Regions from separate parts of the Homo sapiens genome. Here all the other regions are linked to region 1. Evidence: promoter capture Hi-C in 16 types of primary human blood cells and fetal thymus (Javierre and others, 2016). All regions are on one chromosome and are shown on one strand. Each heading gives the region's core, a stretch centred on a gene start or on the middle of the fragment in contact. The rest is flanking DNA. Distances are from core to core; before and after follow the strand shown. Region 1 holds the start of DUSP5 (dual specificity phosphatase 5). Region 2 overlaps XPNPEP1 (X-prolyl aminopeptidase 1). Region 3 has its middle 8.8 kb from the start of XPNPEP1. Region 4 overlaps XPNPEP1 (X-prolyl aminopeptidase 1). Region 5 overlaps XPNPEP1 (X-prolyl aminopeptidase 1). Region 6 overlaps ADD3-AS1 (ADD3 antisense RNA 1).

The links. Contacts are between HindIII fragments. The CHiCAGO score rates a contact against its expected background, and 5 or more counts as called.
Region 2: a contact is called between a fragment that was not itself captured here and the fragment with the promoter of DUSP5 in region 1, in 4 of 17 cell types (naive CD8 T cells, total CD4 T cells, non-activated CD4 T cells and 1 more). The highest score is 9.3, in naive CD8 T cells.
Region 3: a contact is called between a fragment that was not itself captured here and the fragment with the promoter of DUSP5 in region 1, in 8 of 17 cell types (neutrophils, monocytes, activated CD4 T cells and 5 more). The highest score is 13.5, in neutrophils.
Region 4: a contact is called between a fragment that was not itself captured here and the fragment with the promoter of DUSP5 in region 1, in 14 of 17 cell types (monocytes, neutrophils, naive B cells and 11 more). The highest score is 13.8, in monocytes.
Region 5: a fragment that was not itself captured here is called in contact with the fragment with the promoter of DUSP5 in region 1 in 3 of 17 cell types (activated CD4 T cells, naive CD8 T cells and M2 macrophages); the score reaches 8.4 in activated CD4 T cells.
Region 6: a contact is called between a fragment that was not itself captured here and the fragment with the promoter of DUSP5 in region 1, in 2 of 17 cell types (neutrophils and monocytes). The highest score is 5.4, in neutrophils.

Annotation. Positions count from the first base shown.
Region 1 is chr10:110,496,481-110,499,180 of GRCh38, forward strand. DUSP5 (dual specificity phosphatase 5) reads left to right here and starts at 1,427. Exons shown (of 4, transcript NM_004419.4): 1 at 1,427-2,020. The coding sequence starts at 1,642. DUSP5-DT (DUSP5 divergent transcript) reads right to left here and starts at 2. Exons shown (of 2, transcript NR_187547.1): 1 at 1-2. RefSeq lists an enhancer at 1-472 and silencers at 954-1,483, 1,494-1,633, 1,704-1,763, 1,884-2,153. The HindIII fragment of the contact is 7,811 bases long and covers 1-2,700 here.
Region 2 is chr10:109,876,987-109,879,686 of GRCh38, forward strand. XPNPEP1 (X-prolyl aminopeptidase 1) reads right to left here. Exons shown (of 21, transcript NM_020383.4): 13 at 1,014-1,072; 14 at 804-881. Among named protein-coding and RNA genes, the nearest start is that of XPNPEP1, 45 kb to the right of the region's middle. The HindIII fragment of the contact is 6,015 bases long and covers 1-2,700 here.
Region 3 is chr10:109,930,988-109,933,687 of GRCh38, forward strand. No RefSeq gene overlaps it. Among named protein-coding and RNA genes, the nearest start is that of XPNPEP1, 8.8 kb to the left of the region's middle. The HindIII fragment of the contact is 4,489 bases long and covers 1-2,700 here.
Region 4 is chr10:109,911,551-109,914,250 of GRCh38, forward strand. All of the region lies in intron 2 of XPNPEP1 (X-prolyl aminopeptidase 1), which reads right to left. Among named protein-coding and RNA genes, the nearest start is that of XPNPEP1, 11 kb to the right of the region's middle. RefSeq lists enhancers at 1,290-1,339, 1,686-2,341. The HindIII fragment of the contact is 2,633 bases long and covers 121-2,700 here.
Region 5 is chr10:109,894,673-109,897,374 of GRCh38, forward strand. All of the region lies in intron 3 of XPNPEP1 (X-prolyl aminopeptidase 1), which reads right to left. Among named protein-coding and RNA genes, the nearest start is that of XPNPEP1, 27 kb to the right of the region's middle. The HindIII fragment of the contact is 1,399 bases long and covers 680-2,078 here.
Region 6 is chr10:109,947,008-109,949,707 of GRCh38, forward strand. It overlaps ADD3-AS1 (ADD3 antisense RNA 1), which reads right to left. Exons shown (of 5, transcript NR_038943.1): 4 at 189-269. Among named protein-coding and RNA genes, the nearest start is that of XPNPEP1, 25 kb to the left of the region's middle. The HindIII fragment of the contact is 3,875 bases long and covers 1-2,700 here.

The sequences.
Region 1 (2,700 bases), core at 177-2,676:
CCGGTAACAGAAACAGAACGTGCTAGAGGAAGAGCAGCCTGCAGGGAAGGCTGGCACAGATAACCACAAAAAGAAAGAAGGCCCCCGCATCACGTCTTCACCAAGACCCCACTGGCAAGGCGAGGACAGCGCCTTTGGGTGGATGCATCTGTGACCCAGAGGCAATGCTGGCTGTCCTGGTGTCTGATTTGATTGCATCTGATTTCAAAATTTGATCTCTGCTTCCTTCTGAAAACCTCATTCCCTTATGTCAGTTGTCAACAAGCCCTTGTCTAGTGCGGGCAGACTGTTTTCCATCAAGCAGTCCCAGCCAGGCTAACAATAAAATGGTTGGCAGTGAGCTTGGGGGCAGAAACCTGTTTCCATCCATGTGTCCCCGCAGCTAGCAAAGCCCTGGCACACGGCTGACCCTCAATAAATGCTTGCTGAATGGGTGAATTGTGTCTGCTTCCCCAGGAATAGGGGTGGGAGGCCTGAAGCCCCTGGGGACCGGTGGGGGCAGACAGCCTGAGATTAAACTTGATCCATAGATAATCCCCCAAATCCAGAAGCCACCTGGACAACAGTTGGCTGAACTGAGCTCCATCGTGGGATACATGCTGATGGTACTGCTGAGTTCACCAAGGGTCTCCCCGGGACCAGAAAACAGCTCCTCAAAATACAACTTATTATTCTAATCATTATTGGAGAGTGACAGAGAAAAGAGCGTCAATCCTTTGAGGGCAGAATCCATTTAGGAAGATTAAATGGCTATTCTCACCGCCGACCCCCAACCCCCGTTTTTACTTTTACAAACTTTATTATGAAAAATATCAAACATACAGAAAAGTGGAGAAAACAGTATAACGAATCCGGCCACCCATCACCCAGCCTCAGCGATGACCAACCCGCGCCTGACCTCTCCAGTCATCTATACCCCACCCCTCGAGGCAAATCTCCGACGTCCTCTCCTTACACGCGCAGACCTCGGTAGCGACGGGAATCCGTTCCGGACTCCTCTGGGGCCCTGGCCGGCTCCCTCGGCCCTGCTCAGCGCGGCGCGGGCGGGTTCTCAGCCCACGTCCGTGAAGCTGAAGGCCGGATCGTGCGGCGCCGCCCCGCCCCCCACGGCGCTTCCTCCTCGGTCCGCACCGCGAGGGTCACCGCGGCCCCGGAGCGCCTGGGACACTCGACCGGCAGCCGCGGGTGATGCGCGAGTGAGTCCCTCAGCGAAGCGCGGAAGAGAGAACGAAGAGGCGCCTTCCACTTCCTCTCGCTCTAACGCCGGCACCCGCCCCGCGCGTCCCTCGCCCCCGCTGCCCCGCCCCCTGCAGGGCGTGGCCACGGCCCGAGGGGCGGGGAAACACCCATATTTGGCCTTATATGGGCAGCCGCGTCACGGACGGCACTCATTCACATAAAACGCTGCGCGGCCGGCGGAATCCCCGGCTTCTAGGGCGGCGAGCGGCCGGGCTGGCTATCGAGCGAGCGGGGCGGGAACGCGGAGTTGCGCCGCCGCTCGGGCGCCGGGCTCCGTCGCGGCCGCAGCCCCGCGGGTCGCCCTCCCGTGCCTCGCCCGCGGACACCCTGGCCGTGGACACCCTGGCCGTGGGCACCCGCGGGGCGCGCGGCGCGGGGCCGCTGGCCGGCGGCGGCGGCGGCATGAAGGTCACGTCGCTCGACGGGCGCCAGCTGCGCAAGATGCTCCGCAAGGAGGCGGCGGCGCGCTGCGTGGTGCTCGACTGCCGGCCCTATCTGGCCTTCGCTGCCTCGAACGTGCGCGGCTCGCTCAACGTCAACCTCAACTCGGTGGTGCTGCGGCGGGCCCGGGGCGGCGCGGTGTCGGCGCGCTACGTGCTGCCCGACGAGGCGGCGCGCGCGCGGCTCCTGCAGGAGGGCGGCGGCGGCGTCGCGGCCGTGGTGGTGCTGGACCAGGGCAGCCGCCACTGGCAGAAGCTGCGAGAGGAGAGCGCCGCGCGTGTCGTCCTCACCTCGCTACTCGCTTGCCTACCCGCCGGCCCGCGGGTCTACTTCCTCAAAGGTGAGCGCTCGGGGTCCCTGCCACGCTCGCCCCTCCGGCGCCCCCGGGTCCCCTCCCTGCGCCGGGGCGCCCTCCTACACCCTGGGACCGGGAGAGTCACCACCTGCAGGAGTCTGCACCCTGTGGCTTGTTGTGCGCTTGGGAGGGCACTGCAAATGTCAGCACTCAGAGCTCCCCCTCTTCCCCACCCGCGTTCCTCGAAAGCGCCCGGCAGCGGGTCTGCCCGGTGGTCTGGGTGGAGTTGGTTATGCTGCGGGGGCTGCTGCTGTTTAGCAGTTTGGGGGCCGTCGGCTCGTGCCGGGCACGAGCCCCCTTTCCAGACGCGAGCTTCGCCGCTGTCGCTGGGGTCAGGGCTCGGGGCCTTCCTGATAGACTGATCTGGCGGGATCAGCAGGTCGCGATCCACTCTCCCTTGGTGTGGCGCCGTGGTGCCCCCCTTCCTCCCGCCTAGCCAGCTGTGGTCTTCACCGACCCCCTTGCCTTTTTGACCTGGCGAGTCCCTTCCCTTTCCATTTCATTTTATTGCTTTTTATTGTTTCCCTCCGGCCTCTTCTCCCCTCCTAGGTCTTTTCTCTAGCTCAGTTTGGAGCTCACATCCTTTCCACCCTTTTCACCTCCTCCTTCCTCCGCCCCAGGATTATCCCTGGGACCCATCCTGAGCTGAGCCTACAGCCAGCCAG
Region 2 (2,700 bases), core at 25-2,524, 620 kb before region 1:
TGGGATGCCAGGCTTCAGGCTCAGGGGGACAGGAAGAGAGGGTACTGATTATCTCTCCACCCAAAACAGGTTGCCTCACAACCTACTACTAAGTTTTTTTTTGGTATGGAACTGATGGAGCTCACAAGATGTATGGACTAGTACAAAACAGCTGCTGTTACCAAGAAAGAAAACTACTCAAAAATTCCAGTCATGGGCCAAGCACAGTGGCTCACACCTGTAATTCCAGCACTTTAGGAGGCTGAGGCAGGAGGATTGCTTGAGTCCAGAAATTCGAGACAAGCCTGGGCAACACATCAAGATCCTCATCTCTACAAAAAAATCTAAAAATTAGCCAGGAGTGGTAGCACATGCCTATAGTCCCAGCTACTCAGGAGGCTGAGGCAGGAGGATTGCTTGAGTCTAGGAGTTCAAAGTTGCAGTGAGTTGTGATGGCACCACTGCGCTCCAGCCTGGGCAGCAGAGCAAGACCTTGTCTCCAAAAAAAAAAAAACTTAGTCATCAAGATGCAAGGGCTATGCATACAGTTCCTGCAGCTTCAAAAAGGAAAGAGGGACACCCATCTGACTACCCTGCAGAGAATGCCAGTGCCATACTGAGCCTAAGAAGAGGCTCCCAAAAGGCAGAGGCTTGGGGATTGGGAGAAAATAAAATCTTAGAAGTCTTATTTCCCTTCATTTTACAGTCTCAACAGACAGATGAAGGTGGGCACAGAGGCCTCTGGTAAAATAATGTCTCTCCCCTGCTCAGGCTCCTGTGCAGAAGCAGCAAGGCCAGGCAGCATGCTCCTCCGCATGCCTTACGCGTAGTGAATGATGGCGCCGTTGGGTCCCGTACTGGAAATTGTTGGGAAGCTCAGGTCCACAAAGTCTGCCTGTTGCCTGTAACAGAAAGACAGAAAGCAGAGTGGCTTAAAGGTTTTTACTGTGCTAAGATTCAGGGCCCTTCCAGCCTCATTCAACTAGCAAGAAAATCAGCACGAGGCTCCTGGGTCCCCCCAAATGGATCCTTACCTGCGAAACTCCTCAGCTTTGTCAGCAGCTGAGATCTCTGTCACACCACCTTTGGGAACCTATGAGAAAATTGCTTATAAATCATCTGGTGAGATAAATTCATGTGTGCCTCTTACAAATTAGAGGAGGTACATTAAAAGCTCACTTTTTCCTCAATTGCTTCATCCCAACTGACCAATCTACAGGACACATCTTTAGCAAGGGAGAACTCCCAAAGGCTCTCACCAAAGCTATCTAAAATCCAATAGTTTCTATTCATTTAATTTTTCACTCAACTATTGTGCTTCAGTATTTTATCCTAAAACCTCCCAAAACAACATATCTAAGTTTAAAAATTCAAAAGCATCCCCTCCTAAGAAATCATCGTAAGAAAATCATTCTAGAGAAATAAAAAAGATAAATGCGGAGAGATTATTGCAGGATTACTGATAACAGCAAAAAATTAAAAACAACCCAAACATTTAAAAATAGGAGGACTGGGTTAGTAAATCAGAAGAGCCACTAGATGCAGTTTTCATTTGGATCCTTTTTTAAGGCCTCAATGTACATGGAAAATGTTCACACTATGATTCTAAGAGAATAAAATAAAACACAAAATCATATCTAAGCCAGGTGTGATGGCTCACACCTATAATCCTAGCACTTTGGGAGGCCAAGATAGGTGGATCGCTTGAGCCCAGGAGTTTCAGATCAGCCTGGGCAACATGGCAAAACCTTATCTCTACAAAAAAATCAGAAAAAATCAGGTGGGCTGTAGTCCCAACTAATCGGGAGGCTGAGGTGGGAGGATCACCTGAGCTTGGGGAGGCTGAGGCTGCAGTGAGCTGTGATCACACCACTACTCTCCAGCCTGTGCAACAGATGAGACCCCATCTCAAAATAAGAAAAAAAAAAAGAAAAAAAATTTATCTGCACACTAAGAGACATGTAAAAATAATTTATATTTTTAAAAATAATTTACGGCCAGGCACGGTGGCTCACGCCTGTAATCCCAGCACTTTGGGAGGCCGAGGCGGGCGGATCACAAGGTCAGGAGATCGAGACCATCCTGGCTAACACAGTGAAACCCCGTCTCTACTAAAAATACAAAAAATTAGCCAAGCATGGTGGCGGGCGCCTGTAGTCCCAGCTAGTCGGGAGGCTGAGGCAGGAGAATGGCGTGAACCCAGGAGACGGAGCTTGCAGTGAGCCGAGATCGCTCCACTGCACTCCAGCCTGGGCGATGGAGCAAGGCTCTGTCTCAAAAATAAAAAAAAATAATAAAAATGTAATAATAATAATTTACATAAAGTCCAGGCATGGTGGCTCATGCCTGTAATCCCAGCACTTTGGGAGGCCGAGGTGGGTGGATCACAAGGTCAGGAGTTCAAGACCAGCCTGGCCAAGATGGTGAAACCCCATCTCTACTACAACTACGAAAATTAGCCAGGCGCAGTGGCAGGCGCCTATAATCCCAGCTACTTGGGAGGCTAAGGCAGGAGAATCTCTTGAACCTGGGCAGCAGAGGTTGCAGTGAGCCGAGATCACACCACTGCACTCCAGCCTGGGTGACAGAGTGAGACTCCGTCTCAAAAAATAAAATAAAATAAAATAATAATAATAATTTACATAGATGAACAATCACCAGAAGGAAACATGAGGGAAAAAGTTACACTAGTGGGAATAAAGACAATATTTTCTTTTCCCA
Region 3 (2,700 bases), core at 54-2,553, 570 kb before region 1:
ACAGTAACAAGGAACATGAACAGCGCAGGGACTGGCCCCATGAAATGGGACAGAGAGCCCTCCATTTAACCACTTACACTGTTCTACTTTACCTGCCAGACCACTATTGATGTCCAAATTTGTGACTCCTCCTCCTGGAGAATCTGACAAACATGGCCTGGATTTCAACTTCACTGAAATTGCCCTTGCAATTAAGCTAAGGTAACTACTTCTTGTCAGAATGGTTTCACCTTTCGCACCTAAACATAGAATCCCCCAAACTTAACACCAGCTAGCAAGTCCTCACTCTTCTTGTTTTGCAATTTGGATTTTGCAAGGCATGGGGCAACTCATTGGGGCTTGGCAGAGCCCCCAGAATTCTGGCAGCCCTGTGTGTACTGATGTCATGAGTGTCCCTTGCCATAATGCATCCTCATTACTAACTCAAATCTGCCAAACTCAAACAATTGGAGCTGAAAAACAGAGTAACAGGCTGCCTGAGCTGCAAAACAGTGCATAAAAATACTCAGAAAAACAATTAGTGCCTAGGACCATATCCAAGAATGAAAATCACTATTTATTATTGTTAATCATCCCTTTCCCTGATCACAATTTGCCTGCTAAAAGCAGCCCCTTCTCAAAATACAATGAGTAGTTCTAAAAGATATCTTAGTAATATAACCTAGTCATATATATTCTTTTCCTTAGTTTCTCATTAACCTATGTTTAATGTTTTATTCATCTACTCCTTCAATTTAATAACCTTTTTACCCTTACTTTTTCTTTTTTAAACAGCTTTATTGAGATGTTAGTTCTCATTACCATTCAATTTGCCTCTTTAAAGTGTCCAATTCATGTCTTTTATTATATTCAGGGTTTTACAACCATCTCCACAGGCACTTTTAGGGTTTTGTTTTTTTTGTTTGTTTGTTTGTTTTGCGACAGAGTCTCACTCTATTGCCCAGACTGGAGTGCAGTGGTGCAATCTCGGCTCACTGCAACCTCTGCCTCCCGGGTTCAAGCGATTCTCCTGCCTCAGCCTCCCAAGTAGCTGGGATTACAAGCGTCTGCCACCATGCCCGGCTAATTTTTGTATTTTTAGTAGAGACAGGTTTTCACCATGTTGGCCAGGCTAGTCTCAAACTCCTGACCTCAGGTGATCTTCCTGCCTTGGCCTCCCAAAGTGCTGGGATTACAGTCATGAGCCAGTGTGCCCAGCCAATTTTAGGACATTTTTATCACCCCAAAAAGAAATCTCATATCCTTTAGCATCACTCTTCTTTCCTCCCATCCTCCCCAGTCACAGGCAACCACTAATGGGCTTTCTATCTCTATAGAGTTGCCTCTTCCAAGCATTTCAGATAAATGAAATCCTACAACATATCATGCTCTGTGACTGGCCTCTTTCACTTATCATAGTGTTCTCAAGATTCATCTGTAATGTAGCATTCATCAATATTTCATTCCTTTTTTGCAGAATAATATTCCACTGTATGAATGTACCACATTTTACTTATCCATTCAAATGGACTTTTAGGTTGTTTCTACTTCTTGGCTGTTATGAATAATGCTGCGAGAACATTTGTGCATAAGTTTTTTTGTAGGTAGATTTCATTTTTCTTGGATAAATACCTAGGATGGAATTTCTGAGTCATAGGGTAACTCTATGCCTAACATTTTGAATAACTGATGAACTGGTTTTTTTTAAAGTGGCTGCACCTTTCCCACCAGCAATGCCTATTCTTATTACTCTTTATTAATATATTTGTTTTCTTTTTTCCATCAACTGTCCCCAGATTTCAAATGAAATTCCTAATTGCTTTTGCCCTTGGGGAAGTGGAGTGGCATTTAATTTTAGAGTGAACCCTTCTTTAGCCTCTCCTGTTAAGGACTCCGTTGGAGAAATCACACTTCAAGGGTCCCTTCACTCTTGTAAATCAGAATTGTTACCACAGTGCTACTTAAGCCAAAGTCTCTAAGTATCTAGCCTAGGTATTTTAGATACAAACAAAATAAAGTAATTCAATCATTTAAAGGCATAGACGTGGAAATTTGGAACTAGAAGGGGCCCTAAGGATTCCTTCATCAATGCCTTCATTTTATACATAAAGATGCTCTAACCAAACCGAGAGTCATGTGAGCAAGGCCACACAGCTGCTTATTAGAGAATAAGACTGAAACCCAGGTCTTCTGATTCCCCTCTATTCCTCTGATCAGTTCACCCTATAGTCTCTCAGCCAGCTGTGCTTAGCAAACACTGGGGCAATTATAATTCCAAGAGCAAGGGCTGCATTCATACATAGAACAGAGTGGAGAATTAGGTGATTCCGGGTACCATGGGCTGATTCTAGCCCATAGATGTATTTAGCTTACCCTACAAGGTATTTTAAGATTTTTTAGAAAATAGTTGCCAACTCATAAAAATGAAGAAATTTCGGCCAGGCGCGGTGGCTCGAGCTTGTAACCCCAGCACTTTGGGAGGCCGAGGGGGGTGGATCACGAGGTCAGGAGATCGAGACCATCCTGGCTAACACGGTGAAACCCCGTCTCTACTAAAAATACAAAAAATTAACCGGGCGTGGTGGCGGGCGCCTGTAGTCCCAGCTACTCGGGAGGCTGAGGTGGGAGAATGGCGTGAACCCGGGAAGTGGAGATTGCAGTGAGCAGAGATCAAGCCACTGCACTCCAGCCTGGGCGACAGAGCGAGACTCCATTTCAAAA
Region 4 (2,700 bases), core at 187-2,686, 580 kb before region 1:
TTGCCAGCATCTAAAAATTTTACTCTGATATCTTTCAGGAGCTTCAGAATAGATTTATTGTGTTTTCAAACCATATTTCTGAGCAAGTTATCATTCTTAAAAACAGTCAAGCAAAAATGAAGCTTTCTTTAGGAGCAGGACTTCAACACTGGCTGCACATTAGGACTATCCGGGAAACATCTGACTTAACTGGTCTGGAGTACAGCCTTGGCTTCAGGAGTTTTAAAATGCAAAAATATAAGAGTCTAATATACTTTCTTTCAAGATCATTTATTTCTTTATAGACTCTGCCTTCCATTCAGGTACATTCTGACGTAAGGATTTTGGTGGCACTGACTGGGTGTTTAGTGCTGATTGTAGTATCAATATTATCAGTCACTAACTTCATCAATAACGTTAACACAACCAATCATGAGCACAAAATCTTCAACTGCAAACTAAAAACCAACAAAAACAAACTGGATCTGTTCAAAAACATCCTCTGCTTCCTGGTCATCACAACCTGCCTCCTCATTCCCACATTCTGATCTTCATCACTACCACCATCACATCATCACGTTTCCCCTGGTGACTGGCATATCAGACCCCCACAGAATCATCAGCTTTATCAGTCTCACTGACACTCCCCTCCACAATGCTACCTACCCCCATCAACACTCAACACTTTCCCTCTTCCTACTTCCTCATCCTTCAGGCCGATCACATTCATGTTCTGGGTGCAATGCAGCTACTTCTTTATCATCAATATTAGACATGATGAAAGAAGTCCCAATACCATAACCAATAGTTAGGATGTGGTAAGGGGCAGTGGCAGCAACAGTGAAGGTGAAGAAGATAGCAACAGGCAATGGCTGAGGCAGTGAGGCAGCTACCACTGAAGTGAATACAGTGGGCCCTGGTGGTTGAGGCAGCTGTACCCACAAGGAAAACAGGTGATGGAAAGTGATTGAATGAGTGAGCAGCTGGAGCTAAGGAGAGAACAAAGTTGGTGCAATTATATAAGTCCTAGCCATTGAGGTGGCACTGGTTGAAAAGGCAGCCAAGATGGAGGAAGTGAAAGTTGTAGCTAATGACCCTCATAATTTGTATAAGGAGTAAATGAGTTACTATACATATGGCACTTAGAAACAGTACCTGGCACATAACAAATGTCATGTAAATGTTTAATGTTATTAGAGTTAGACACACAACTAACCATAAATGCAATGTGATAAATTGTGTAAACAGGTGTGTATACCACTTCTCCGGAAGGCAGGGATGATGTCATCTCTGTATCCATGTATCTACAATTAACATATACATATGCTCACTCAAAGATGGCTAAATCAAATTCACAACATTGGATCTATGATCTTTTCAGTCTCAATGAACAGTAATGAATCTTCAGTGACAGATAGGCTCTTGCAAGGTGCTGTATTATGACATCTGCTCATTCCACATCCTATGACTTTTCAGAAATGTTAGAAACAGCCAAGAGCTAAGCAAAGTATGCAGCAAAGTAGGAAGCCAAGAGCAACAGGCCTAGTCCACGATGAAACATTAGCCCATACACTGCCAGGTATTTTCAAACTATGCCTTACAGAGAATGACTCACTTAAAAGTCTTGCATATACAGGTCTGCTTTTAGAAATAAGTTCCCACACCTTCAGCCTTTATCACAAACAAGATTTTTCACTGATTGTACATGAAAAGCACACCATACTTACCTCACTGGTGGCCAGGCAAATTAAACATGATAATGTGTGTGAAAGCACCATGCACAGCATCTATTACACTGCAGGAGCTCAAGAAATATTTGAATCTGGATCTGAAGCACCAGCTGGAATTCCCAAGTCTCGTTATAAGAATGGAAGGGGCCAGTTTACTCCAATTTCAGCATCTTAACACGGGCACAGATGCTCTTCCAGCATCAATAGCTTTAGAGGTAGTGGTTTGTTTCTCTGTTGCACAGCTGAGGGAACGCTAAGGGCTTTACATACATTAGTGGCTAATTCTCACAACAATCCTCCAAGGGAGGTTTCACTATTCTCATTTTACACATAAAGGAACAGGAGTTAAAAGGAGTTAAGTACTTGCCCAAAGTCAGCTGGTTCATCAGGAACCGGGACTCAAGGTCTATGCAATTCCCAAGTCCATGCTCTATTACACCATATTAGCTGGGGGACATAATAGAGCCTTAAAGTGTTCTAAGACCAACAGAAGCAAAACAAGTGAGCTCCAGTTTCCAGCTGGGATCTACAACCTCAGGCAACTGAAGCTACCTAACCTCTATTTCCTCATACATTACAAAAAGAAAAAGAAGTTATCTTCCAACTCTAAGTTTAATGATTCCATCACTTTTTTCCTTTCTTTACTTTCTCTTTTTCCTCCTTCCTCTGCTACCTCCTAATATGGTCCAAAATGTGTTGGATACATCTATATTTTTTAAAGAAAAAGGATCTAAAATTGCATGCAATTATAGCACTGATCTTCCAAACAGAGATTAGACGGGCATGGTTTCTTATGTACTTCAAGAGATCAATTTTTCAGTCAGCTAAAAAAAAAAAAAACACATGGTTCTCCTTAGTAGTCGTTAGAGCAGTACTGGCTTACTGGGATAGAAATACAGTAATACACCACTTTTCAGAATTCAGGTTTCTGGCAACCCATCAGACAATTAACCAGTTCTGGGGAGAAGGGACAGCCAAGAAATATTTCCCA
Region 5 (2,702 bases), core at 129-2,628, 600 kb before region 1:
AGCTCTGGGCCACCTGCCCACTAGCCCAGGCCCAGCTGCATAGTCTGCAACAAGTCCTGGCAGCTCTCTCAGCCTCATTTCCTCATCTCTAAGACAGGTCATTTCAGATTGCTAAATGCAACAGCAAGCACGTTTTATTCCTAAAGCATAAAGAACATTCGGTCAACAGCACTAAGGAAATAGAAAGAAATGGCCACCAGCATCGTTTAGGAACTGCAGAATCCTCACTTGTTTATTAACCGAGTAATTACTGTGTGCAAGACTTTTTATTAAAAAGTAACAACGGGGGGAAGGGTGGCCCACACATCTCCTAGGACTCTTGTGAGAAACAGTAAGTTAATGTCTTTCAAAACTCACCAGAAACTTGAAAGTGCTGCACATATGCAATGGAAGAGATATTATTAATCTCTTCTTCCTAAACAGTGAGAAGACATCTAAGGGGCTGGGAAAACTAAGTTAAAAATAACTCTTGTGCTAAAAATCACTGCGCACAATGGGGAATACACAGTGAGGGCACTCTCCACCAACATGACGCCACAGGCTTGGGGCTCTTCCACCCGTGACACAGGGTGAAGATACTGGCAAAGACTGGCAGAGAATGCAGTGCAGGTCTGAGCCCGGCTGGACTCTTCCATTCAGGGACATAGTACTCTAGGGATGCCCCACCCCTTTCTGGGCAAGCTTGGGAGAGATGGAAGATCCGCAGGGTTTACCTAGACTTCTCCATCAGCAAAGGCAAGGAAAGAGTTCCTCCAAAGGGAGGTGGAATTAACAGCAAATGGACATGTTTAGTTTGGGATGGAGACAAGGTCTGGGGTAAGAATGTCCAGACATGACCTAAGTGGTCAACATTCCAGAAAGACATTGCTAAGCAAGGCTGGCCACAGCCTCACCTCCACACTGACAGGCTATGCAGAAGCCAGACAAGCACTGGGCCCAGGGCTGTCACTCTCCTTCTCCCAGGCATGAAGCTGGCAACGCCCAGGGGCGGTCTCCTTAGAACACAGCATAGGGCCTAAAATAAACCAAAGCTGTAGCATGCTAGGAAAAAGGCACAAAGAAGCACAGCTGCTGGCTTTTTCTCAAAACCACCCACTTCTCTCCATTTCTAATAGCAGCACTCAGTCCAAGCCTCCATCATCTCTACCTGGACTACCGCCCCTACAATCCACTCTGCACATACACTCAGAGTGAGCTTTTCCAAATATCTAAGATCATGTTAGCAACCTCCTTAAAACCCTCCAATGGCTTCCTATTATATTTAAGATAAAATCCAAACTCTGGCCCAGTCAAGGTACCAGCTGATCTGACTTTGCCAGTCCTCTTGCAGCTCTGCTCCCATTCACCATGCTCCAGACACACCCACCTCCTTTCTGCTCTTTGCATATCCTGAGCTCATTCCTGCCTCAAGGCCTTGGCACATGTGCTTCCTTGTGCCTATAAAAGTATTTCTGATCATGGTATGGCTAGGTCCTTCTCATCATTACATTTGAGATCAAATATCACCTCTACAGAGAGGCCTACCTGTACTACCCAGCTATAATAGCCACCTGGCCACTTTTAAGTCTCTGTATAGCACACACATACTCTAGATATTTGTCTTTTTTTTTTTTTTTTTCTTTTGGAGACAGGATCGCCTTCTGTTACCCTAGCTAGAGTGTGGTGACACAATTATGGCTCATTGTATCCTTGACCTGTCAGGTTCAAGCAATCCTCCCACCTCAATCTTCTCAATAGCTGGGACTACAGCAGGCACACACCTTTTTTTTTTTTTTTTTTGTAGAAACGGGGTTTTACCACGTTGCCAGGCTGGCCTTGAACTTCTGGGCTCAAGTGATCAGCCTGCCTCAGCCTCCCAAAGTGCTAGGATTACAGGCAAGAGCCACCATGCTGGGCAATGTTTCTCTTCTTAATGAACTTTTTATATGTTTATTGTCTTGTTCCTCAACCCCCATCTTAACCCCAAGCATATAAGTTCCATGAGATCAGGGTATCTGTCCTGTCCCTGCACTCAGCACAGGTGACTAGATCCTCAACCCACATTTGTATTATAAATGAACAAGCAGAAAGAGACATGAAGCTTTTCCCTACATCCAGTTAAAACCTCAACCATATCTACGAAGATGGACGAAGGGACCATGAGCCAAGGAATGCAGGTGGCCTCCAGAAACTGGAAAAGGCAAGGAAATGGACTCTCCCTGGAGCCTGCAGAAGTAACATAGCCCTGCTGACCCATTTTAGACTTCAGACTTCCAGAACCATAAGAGAATAAATTTGTTTTAAGTCACTGTGGTAATTTGTTATAGCAGTGATAGGAAACTAATACATTATCTAATGGGGAAAAGATCGTAAGGGATTATAAATGGGGTTTCAAATTCAAATACCTCAGGGTACAGGACAAAGGATATCTTTTCTAAAGACAGCAGCTCCTACTCAGCTCTGATTTCTGAAATGCAGGCCACATGTTGCTAACCTTCAATATTTCAGAAGAAGCCAGAAATATGGGTTCATGAGAAATTACCCAATTTTTAAATGTTGGCATCTAATTCCAACAATATAAACAATACATAGCCAAATAAAGCATCTGTAAACTACAAAAAAAAAAAAAGCTAGTCATCTCTCAAAAATCTGGTTCAAGTGCTCCCTTTTCCATGAAGCTTCCTGACCCACTTCAGCTTTCAGAGGCTCCCACATTTCTGAAT
Region 6 (2,700 bases), core at 156-2,655, 550 kb before region 1:
TGAAGTTCCTTCCAGCTCTATAGCTTCCAGAGTGTCTAAATGACTTTTATCATCACAGTGCAGTTCTGTCTATGGCTTTTTGTATTTCCTAAAGCATTCCTGCCCAACCCACAGCAACATTTGCACTTAGACAACCCTAAGCAGTCAACAGCCCTTATAATACCACTTCACAGATGAAGAAACTGAACCTGAGAATGGTGAAGTGACTTGCTCAGCCACAGAGCATGGGAAACTCAAGTTTGCTTCCTAACCAGCTCCCTTTCTTCCTCCTGCAAGGGCAAAATGAGATCATAAATAGGAAAGCACTCTGAAAAGAAGGAATCTCTATTGATGCCAGATGTATTATTATAAAGCCAAACCTAAGTATAGGGTGACCTTGTTATCACCCCCAGAGGTGGAGATGCTTACAGATCTGGCCGGTTTAATCTCTGGATACCCTGGGGAGAGTATCTGGGGCTTTCTCCAGTAGGGTTAAGTTTTGCATGTTCCCGACATCACTTTCTCCAGAGGGGACCCATCAGAAAGAAAAGAGTGACATCCCCTCATTCCTTAAAAACATCACCCCCTCAATTTTGCACAACTCAGGCCAACCCAAACGTCAGAGGGTAATAGTGTTGATGTCAGGATTCAAAATTTATGGACAGTGTGGACATATGCGATGGTTTGTTTGGGGAAATGGATTTGTCATGTGCAGGATATATGGCACCAGATAAAACATCCTGACAATATTACACGATTGGGGAGGAGGGGGTGCACAAGGATATTATTTTGAAAATACACTGTTATGACATTTTAAAAATTCCAGAGTGAATGCTGAGAAGATCCAGAGGTTAATGTGATGCTGGAACATGCAGCTGTGCAGGACCATAAAGAGTCATCCATTTTGTATCACAAAGTACATTTTTCATCTTCTTCTCCCTCAAATCATGGAATTGGGGGCAGGGATATTGTAAGCAAATTTGATTTAAGTACATTTAAAGGAGACTAATACAAAAGTAATAATAAAGATTCATCTTTTTGAAATTTTGAAAATAATCCAAGCTGGGCGTGGTGGCTCACGCCTGTAATCCCAGTATTTTGGGAGGCTGAGGCGGGCGGATCACGAGGTCAGGAGATCAAGACCATCCTGGCTAACACGGTGAAACCCCGTCTCTATTAAAAATACAAAAAAAAAAAAAAAATTAGCCAGGCATGGTGGTGAGCGCCTGTAGTCCCAGCTACTCAGGAGGGTGAAGCAGGATAATGGCGTGAACCTGGGAGGAAGAGCTTGCGGTGAGCCATGACTGCGCCACTGCACTCCAGCCTGGATGACAGAGCGAGACTCCATCTCAAAAAAAAAAAGAAAAGAAAAGAAAAGAAAAGAATCCAAATAATCTAAAAATAAAAATTTGTCCAAAATTGCAAGATTTTTGACCTGCAATCCCAGCAAACTATAAACTTTGCTTCTTCTCTTGCCAGCTGGCCAACATAAATGGCTGCCATCCTTTGCCAAGAGGACTCTTATATCATGAGATTTGTTTGTTTGTTTGTTTTCTACTCATCTGAGGTCTCATAAAGTGCAACCCTAACAAAATGCAGCTTCCTTATACTTAGATGCAGTAAAGTTTTTCAGAGGGCCTGTTATATATAGGCTTTCACATGTCTGCTATTTTAAACCTCACAATAGCTCTAACAGGTAGATAACGCCATCCTCATTTCACAGAGGAGGAAACGGAGGCTTAAAGGATTTGAGTAGCTTGCCCATGGTTATGTAGTGAGGAAGTTGCAGAGCCAGAACTCACATTCAGGGCTTCTATCTCCTCTCCACCACAACCACTCAAGCCAAAAGAGATGAATTTGACTGCATTTGTGCATATAGTCATTGTTCTCCAGGCATGTGTCAGACACTGTGCTAGGCACTAGGTCAGTGAGGATGGGAAGATTCCAGAACCAAGATTTCATACGGGCAGGCAGTGCTATAAGGCCTAGGGTCAGAAGTTCCAGGTCAGTTCCAGCAGGTATCAGTATCTGGAGATATGCATGGCAGTGAGAGATGGACAGGGGTGGGGTGGGTCCCCTTCGCCTGGATGGTGTGTTGAACAGCACAAACAAAGCTAAGAGTGCTTCCCTTCTAGGTTAGGTTACCTTCACACCAGAAATTATGGAGATTCATTGTAATGATAGAAATAGAAATAAGAAAGCTCAGCCAAGTTGGTAGGCCTCTCGTGTGAACCAAGCTAAACCACCAGACCGCACAGAAAGAAAAAAATCCACGGCCCAGCCTAGGGAGTTTGGGAGTCTTAGGGAGTTTTGCTCTTGGTTTGGGATCTGGAAGCTGGTAGTCAAATCAGCAGGTTATCTCATGGACTTTCAGGTCTGGTGCTGACTGGTCCCTGGCATCCTACCATTACCATGCCTCCGCTGTTTCCTTTCTCTCTCCTTCTACTTCAGCGGCTCCTGTTGCAACTGACGAAGTCCTGATTCCATCCTTCTTCCCTCCCCATAGAGCAGCTTGTTCAGGACTTCTACGACTTCATGAATTGTATTTACTGTTTTTTTCTCTCTATGTATCTTTTGGCTTTTTTCTTCCTACCAACTGATTCTCTCACTCTCTCTTACTGATTATTCTCTTACTCTCTGACTACTGAGGGAGAACCTCTGATTTGGTTCACTTAAACACTATTTCCCTCTAGTGCAAAGGTCTTGCACCAGGCTACTTTT